Linked DNA regions of Homo sapiens: region 2 is linked to region 1. Evidence: promoter capture Hi-C in 16 types of primary human blood cells and fetal thymus (Javierre and others, 2016). All regions are on one chromosome and are shown on one strand. The core of a region is centred on a gene start or on the middle of the fragment in contact, and the rest is flanking DNA. Distances in the headings are between cores, read along the strand shown.

What was found. Contacts are between HindIII fragments. The CHiCAGO score rates a contact against its expected background, and 5 or more counts as called.
Region 2: a fragment that was not itself captured here is called in contact with the fragment with the promoter of CSNK1G3 in region 1 in 1 of 17 cell types (non-activated CD4 T cells); the score reaches 6.2 in non-activated CD4 T cells.

Annotation. Positions count from the first base shown.
Region 1 is chr5:123,510,324-123,514,016 of GRCh38, forward strand. CSNK1G3 (casein kinase 1 gamma 3) reads left to right here and starts at 1,854. Exons shown (of 14, transcript NM_001364140.2): 1 at 1,854-2,247. RefSeq lists enhancers at 1,566-1,625, 1,786-1,995, 3,026-3,175 and silencers at 2,176-2,265, 2,436-2,505. The HindIII fragment of the contact is 13,359 bases long and covers 1-3,693 here.
Region 2 is chr5:123,377,829-123,381,521 of GRCh38, forward strand. CEP120 (centrosomal protein 120) reads right to left here. Exons shown (of 20, transcript NM_001375405.1): 15 at 508-600. Among named protein-coding and RNA genes, the nearest start is that of CEP120, 44 kb to the right of the region's middle. The HindIII fragment of the contact is 4,009 bases long and covers 1-3,693 here.

The DNA.
Region 1 (3,693 bases), core at 604-3,103:
GCTTTGCCAATTTTAATCTATAGGAGCTTATAGGCCAAATTTTAACCAAAAGTCTTCCCTGCAGTGTTAAAAATGTAAACATTTATTCCCATACGTTTCTAATATAATTTAATAAATACTAGTCAAGTGAAACAGTGGGAGTGGAGAAGGAACAAAGAAATCTGTAACTGGTTGTGAGCAATTCGTTGTAAGTACCACCGTACTTAGACCAGCCCATTTTTAATTTAAAAATGTGTTTTGATCATATATTTATACACTTGACTTTCTCAACCATTTATGAAAACTTAGAAGAGTGGGTGTTCTTTATCAAAACTGAGTTTTTTGAGGTAGAGAGAATAAAATGGTTTGTTGGGAGTTGAGGACAATATTTAGAGTTTCCTGTGTTGCAGACACTTCTCTTCTATTGAGTGAGATGTTGTTAACTTTGTTTCTTGTCTATTAGTGGGTCCTGGGAGAGATCAGAAATTCTGGGATATGTCATCTGCCCTAGGCAAGTCATTCACAATTCTGAGCATGCATACATCTTAGCTGCTTTTGAGTCTCCTACAGAATGATGGTGTGGTAAGCATGGAGCAAAGCTCTTATCACTACCCTTCTAAGGCTGGTGATGCTAGTCACTTCTTAACTTCCAGTTTGGGGAAGAAGTGAGAAGAGAGGTTTAAAAAAAAGGCACTGTTGTATTACAAACCAAAATCAAAAACAGATTTCTATACTAACTACCCTTCCAAAGGTAACACATTAGCTATACCGTTAATCTAGCAAAGCAGGGAGGAAAATGAAGGAGTGCATTTGTTTCATTAGTCTTTTCGTTTTGAGAGGTAGACAGGAGAGATAGAGATACACAAGACTCAAGTTTCTTGATACAGTAAGTATATTAAGAATATAAACGGGTTTGATAAAATGAACATTTAAAAAACATGGCACCAGGCTGATTCTTCTTCCTGCACACCTTAATGCCTAACTTTTGAAAGGACTTGAGACATAAGAATCACAATTTTAAAAAATTATAGTTTCCATGCCTTCATGGTGGATCAATTTCCATAGAAGTCTACCAAAATGACTTATCTCCATCCCAGGGAAGCAACTGCAAGAGGGAAAATGAAAGGAATGCAGTCTTTCTATGTAGGCAGAGTGGACTTAAGTGTGAGTCAGAAACACCGATTTCAGTTTGTGCGCTGCAACTTGATAACTTGGGTGATGTTTGGCTTCTCAGAACTTTGGGAGGTGAATTTGAAAAACAGGTAATGCCACACTATATAGTTCAGAGGATTACCTCAGCTTACAAACAGCAAATGAGACGCAAATGTGAGCCATAATTCACATTTCTAAGCAGTTGGAGCCCTGATATGGCACTGGGGTTACAAACAAGCGGGGAAAAATGTCAACCCAGTGATGTCATACTCCTAGGCCGGGCCCTAAGATTTTTTTGGAACCTGGCGGGCTGAGCACAACAGGGAAAGCCTCAGCACCCTGACTTGGCACAATGGTACCCTTAAGGCTCTTTGCTCACTCAGTTCTTAGTAGCTCTCCTAAAGCATGGTGGTGTTCTCTTCCAGTTCTCTGCGTAGACTTTGCTATGCTTCTCCGCCCACTGCTTCATCCAGAGAAACACTCGTATCCACAGCCTCTCCCCACTTTCCCTCACGCACGGCTCTAGAAAGACGGGGATAGGGCGCGGCTTAGGCTTTATACACCTTGCCAGCCAATGACCGCGCCGTCTCCTTTCCGGTCGGCGATCCGACCAATCCAAGAAGGTTGGTGCAATCTTCGGCTCTACTCGGCTGTTTTCGCTGATGCGGGCAGCTTGGGGGCCGCCGCCGCTAAACAGACGCTTTCCTTTTTAATTTTTTTTCCATGTGTTCACTTCCGGGTCCGGCGTCGATCCGGATGCCCGAGGCAGAAGGATGTTTGACCTCCGGATAAGCGAGGCGCTGCTGTGCATTCATTCCGGGCTGCATCGGTGGCGACAGCAGAGGCTCGGGCGGCGACTCTCCGGCCAGCGGCGGCGGTAGGAGGCACCAGCGGCAGTGCAGGGACCGAATCCGAGCAGCGCTGCGTTACCTCTCTCTCTCGCTCCTTCCCCCCTACCTCGCTCGCTCGCTCGCTCGCTCCCTGCGTGGCTCGCTTTCCTCCTCCGGCCGCCGGCGGGTGTGATGTGCCGCCGCCGCTGCCCCCGCCGGCGCTGACGGACTGGGGGCGCCGCCCGCGCCCGGGACCGACCCCTCTGCTCGCGGCCGCGCCTTTGAGGTAAAGCCCCCTGCGCGTAGGTGCTCCGCTGCCAGCCCCGGCCCGGCGGCTGCCTCGGCGCGGCCGCGGCGCCCTCCCTCCCGGGTGGGGCTGGGGTCCCGGGCGGGTGGGGTGGGGTGCGGCGGGGGCGGCGCCGCAGGCGCGGGTGTCGGGGGAGGGGTGGGCGAGGACCATGGCGGGTGGCCCGGAGGCGTGGGCAGGAGGGGGCCGCGGTCGGAGGCTGAGGGCGCGGAGGGCTAGGGGGCAGCGGGGGCCGCGGGTGGCGGGTCGGGCTGGGTGCAAAAGTTGCCGGAGTGGTGCGGCGCGACTGGGGCGGCGAGGGAGGTGGGCCAACTGGGCCGGCGGGGGCTTCCTTAGGAGAGATTGGGAGGTGGGGAGTGTCGCCCACGGTGCTCCTTGACTGTGTCCAGACAATTACCTTTGGAGTAGGGGCTTCAGGCAGGAAGGAGGCATGGATAGGCTGGGAGGAGGCGACGGGGGCCAGCGTTCAGCTCAGGGATAAACTTCCCGTTGGAGTGTTTAAGGGGTTGGGTGGGGGGACACAGGGATTTACCTGTTTCTTAGAGCTTTGACTCAGCTCAAAACTTAACCAAGACATTAGTCAAAGGTTAGCAAAATCACTCTGATGGTTACTCTCATGGTGCCGGTTTGTTTGTTTATCCCACATGCAGGGGAAGTGACACTGAGAAGCATCGGGTCTCTTGGTCCACAGCCTCCACATTTCTTTTCAGCAGGATGAGGAGGGAGATGTGTGTCTACTCGTGGGGTGGGGGTAGTGAGGCCTGTGTCATGGTCATTCCCCTTCTCCCACCTCATGTTTTAGGGAGGAAAAGTTCAGATGGGGGAGAGAGTGAGTGTGCCTGTGTGTGTGGGAGACAGCTACTGTTGATACACTGTGTGAATTACTTTCAACTCTTTTGTAGTAAGCACCCAGGCTGGTCAGTGGCTCCTTTTAAATCTTCTATTAAAATATTTACTTTAAATTAGAGAATTAAAAATGTACTTATTTTTAATGAATTAAGAAAATAAGTCATTATTTTACTTTTTGCAATTACTTAGTCCGATTCAAATGACATTTGGCCACAGATATGAGAGATGGCAAACTATATCTAAGATGGGATATAAAATGAAAAGTATATACTTTTTAAAGATGTTTCTTTTTAAAGATGTTTCTTTGAAGAATATTGGCTTTCCCGGTAAATTTAGAAGAAAAACATTACAGAAATTGTGAGAATAATGTGGAATTAGATGTGAAACTAGTTTAAGAAAATATTTTTCACCAAAAAAATCAGATCTGGTGTGTGACATTAATAGCTTTCTTTTTTTTTGAGCTGTACTTAGTGTATTTTGTAATTATTTACAAACTTTGCTCCAGTTGTATCTTAGGATAAATTGTCTTATTCTTTTGTATAGTTAACCTTTATAGTTGCACAAAAGATAAAAGAT
Region 2 (3,693 bases), core at 460-2,959, 130 kb before region 1:
AATATGCCCAAGTTTCTTTTCTTCTTTTAGAAACTTCTGATTCTTGCCTAATCGCATAGAATACAGCCTTGGTATTAGGCACAAATCTACACTATTAAGTTTAAACACTCTGACATACTTTTCGACCTATTCTTAATATATAAGATATGCTGAATAGCAGTTTGAATAGCAGTTTTCTGCATGTCTAAAAGACAATTTTCATGAAATATATAGAGCACAAAGTAATAAACAGTATGAATTTCATATATAGACTCTGTGAAATAAAGATATATGATAGATGACATACTTACTAATAACACCACTTTCCACCTCTTTGTAAATAATTATGTAAGACTCTCATAAATGGAGTGCCTCTATTCCAGTCTTTGCTTGTCTCATTCTTATAAGCAGCCCATCCTGAGTCCCTTCTCTCTCGGGACTCTTTTGCATCTAACTTTTAAAATAGTATTTCTACTTTGCAATAAACCCCTCTATGCTGAAAAAAAATACAATGGACGAATGACATACCTCTGATTCCACACTAGCAAGCTGCTGCTCTCGCTTCTCCAAGTCAATTAGAGTTTTTTGAAGTTTTCCTTCTAGAATAGTATATTCAGCCACCTAAAATATAGTAAAAAAAAAAAAAAAAAAGTTACCTACCTTCTCCCAAACTTAAAACACACACAAATTCAAAAATACACATCATTTCACTGAAACAGAGGACCTAAGAATAGGAAAGTCACAAATTACATCCGCCAATTCAAAGAAAAAAATGTGCTTTTATGAATTTGAGACTGGTGATGGTCATATTTCCTCCTCTTGGTCTTTTTTCTTCTCCAAGATAAACACAAATTTTAACTGTTATTCACATATTATGATTTCCACATCCTCTAGTATGTTAGACTTAATCTAAATTTACAGAGGATGGAAACAAAAGACTGCTAAATTTGAAACGCATATGTAGTGTAAGCAACTAAATAGCCAAGTGTGGAGTCCAGGGAAGAAGTCAGGGATGGGGGTGCGTGTGGTGGGTGTCTTGGTGTATATAATGCCAAGAGAGTGAATGACATCATCCAAGGAGTGAGTATACAGAGAGAAGAAAGGATGGTATTTGAGGACTGGGCTGTGGGACAAGCCAATAAAGCCAACATGAGGAGAATCTAGCATGAAAATTAGGAAAGAGAGACCAGTGAAGACAGCGGAACACAACAGTAGAAAAGTGTAGTCCAAAAAAAAAATATAGTCAAAGAAGCCAAATAGAGGAAGTGTTTCAAAGACAGAGATAAACCGGGTAAGGATGAGGAAGGATTGTTTGTTAAGACAAAAACTAACTGTTCTGGCGAGTGAGAAAATGAATTGACTAGGGAAAGCAGTAGGATTGTGAGCAGCCGTGAGGACGTCTTAGCGCTTGAGGTCCTAAACCTCCTTAAAATCATCTCTTTACCACCCATCTTTTCTCCATAACCTTTCACTACTATTAGTTTTTGGCTTTCGTTTTTTATACATATTGCTTTCCTGGTCTCCTGGACTTTAGTTTCACATTCCTCTATTCTAGCCACTGTACCTCCATCAGAATTATTGTTATAGAATGAAAACCTAATTATTTTATATAAAAATCTTCATTTAAAAAATTTCTGATATTTCTACCGTTCTCAACCAGGGTTTATCATCTGAACCACAAAACACAGAAAATGATTTAATTATTTTCTCCATCCTCTCCTAAAATGGTACATAACTACCATTTTAGATGCATAGGATAAAGTTAATTTATTACCAATAATGGATCACTTAGGGTATTAAGGGCTTCATTCTCTCAGGAAGGCCTGGCTAAGAAAAGCCTACAGTATCTAGTCTAAACTCTACATAATGGATTTACGAGATCATTTATTCTCCAGGGTATCAACCTCTCTTACCTTATTTCTTGAGGCACACTCTTTCCTCCCCTCTTCCAACATCAAACTACATATAATTTTCTTAATGCAGAGTGTATTTCAAACTTCTTTGCCTTTTCCTCAAGGGGCTGTGTCCGGAATACCCTTTGAGTCTACCTGGCAATATCCACTAATCTTCACCAAAGTGAAAGCATGATCTTATCTACAGAACACTTCCTTATGTAGAACTGATGTCTTCCTTCTCTGTGGGTAATGACTATCTTCAGCTATCTGACAGGCAGTCATATGTAAGACAGAGTATATCTCAGTTGCTCCAGAGGGCAGAACAAGAACCACGTATATATCTACTCCTTCAGGTAAATTTTCAAAGTGTGAAAGAAGTTATACATCGTTTTTTAAGACAAATCAGGTAAATAAACGAAAAGGCTCACATATAATTGACATTTAAAAAATACTATAGTGAGAGTCTCAGGGTATTTAGCTTTAAAATATTTCATCATACTGAAAAACAACTTTTTTTTCTCACTACTGACTTGATTTTGTAGTGGTTGATAAAATTTAAAAGAAAAACTGATCCCATGCAAGACAGGATACTTTAAGACAAATGAATTAAAGTATTTGGTCTCAAAAATGCACTTAGGTTGAAAGAAAATGGCAAATCTCAATCTCAGATCTACCTTTATCATATGACTAATTTGAATAAACAGCACAAACACTTATTATGTAGGCATCATATTGTTTTCTGACTGGAGTTATTAACTAGCCAGGAACTCATCATTTCAGGCTGAAAGGGTAGAAGTGTATAAATGGAAACCAATTACAAATTTTAGCTGAAAAGATCATTATTACCAAAATGACAACAAACCAAAAATTACTTGGTGAGTTTTCACAGAAAGTTTAATTATGGCACAAAGTGAATTTGTCACGGTTCTAGTAATTTTATTAACTTTTCAAGTATTTCCCGATTTGAATTTTGCAGACCTCAATACTAAAATACTCTTCAACACAATGAAGAGAAATGATTCAAGGATAAACTCATCTTGTCTTAAAGGCTAGGTTAAAAATTTTAAAAATTAAAATGGTATTTTCCAGCTCCCCCAGATTCAATGAATATCTAATAGGTGAGGTCTGTAAATATTACTTAATATGAAACTCACTTAATAACAGGATAACTCGCATAATGTTAAAATGTATGTCAGGGCTTCTAATTATTGTAATTTTGGTTATCTGAACGTTTCTAAAGAATAGAGACTTTGAAATACTCTTATTTTTGTCTTTCAGCTTTTTTAAAAGTTCACTGGTTATTCAAGTTTTTAATGGTGAGAATTAAGTTAGAAAAAGCTGATTTGGTTATTTTAAAATCAAAGGCCTGTGTACTTCTGTTTCCACCCATAAAAGACAAATGGCCCTCCTTTATAAACACAACTTAAACAACATTTATGAAACAACTGTTTTTAGACATTGGGCAACAGGCAGCACAGGACAATGATCCCTAAAAGGTGAGAAATAAATGAGGCAACCACTACAATATATCTAGCTTACTGCCTGAAGACTGTAGTAGCTCAAGGAAGGGGAACCCAAACAGACACTAGCAATCTTGCTGAGCTGAGAAAACGGAATGGAGACCAGAGAGGCTGAGGCAACTAGAGTTGATGAGAGGAGGGGGTTATAGAGAGAAGGAGCACTGGAGCCCTGTAGAGCCATCCCCTCAAATCTGAAGCTGAATACTGATTAACCACTAATAAGAGTATTTCTAAAGTCCTAAAATTATTAATAGAATATTTGAAGAAAGTCTGTTAGGGTTGTTTTATTTAATAACTTC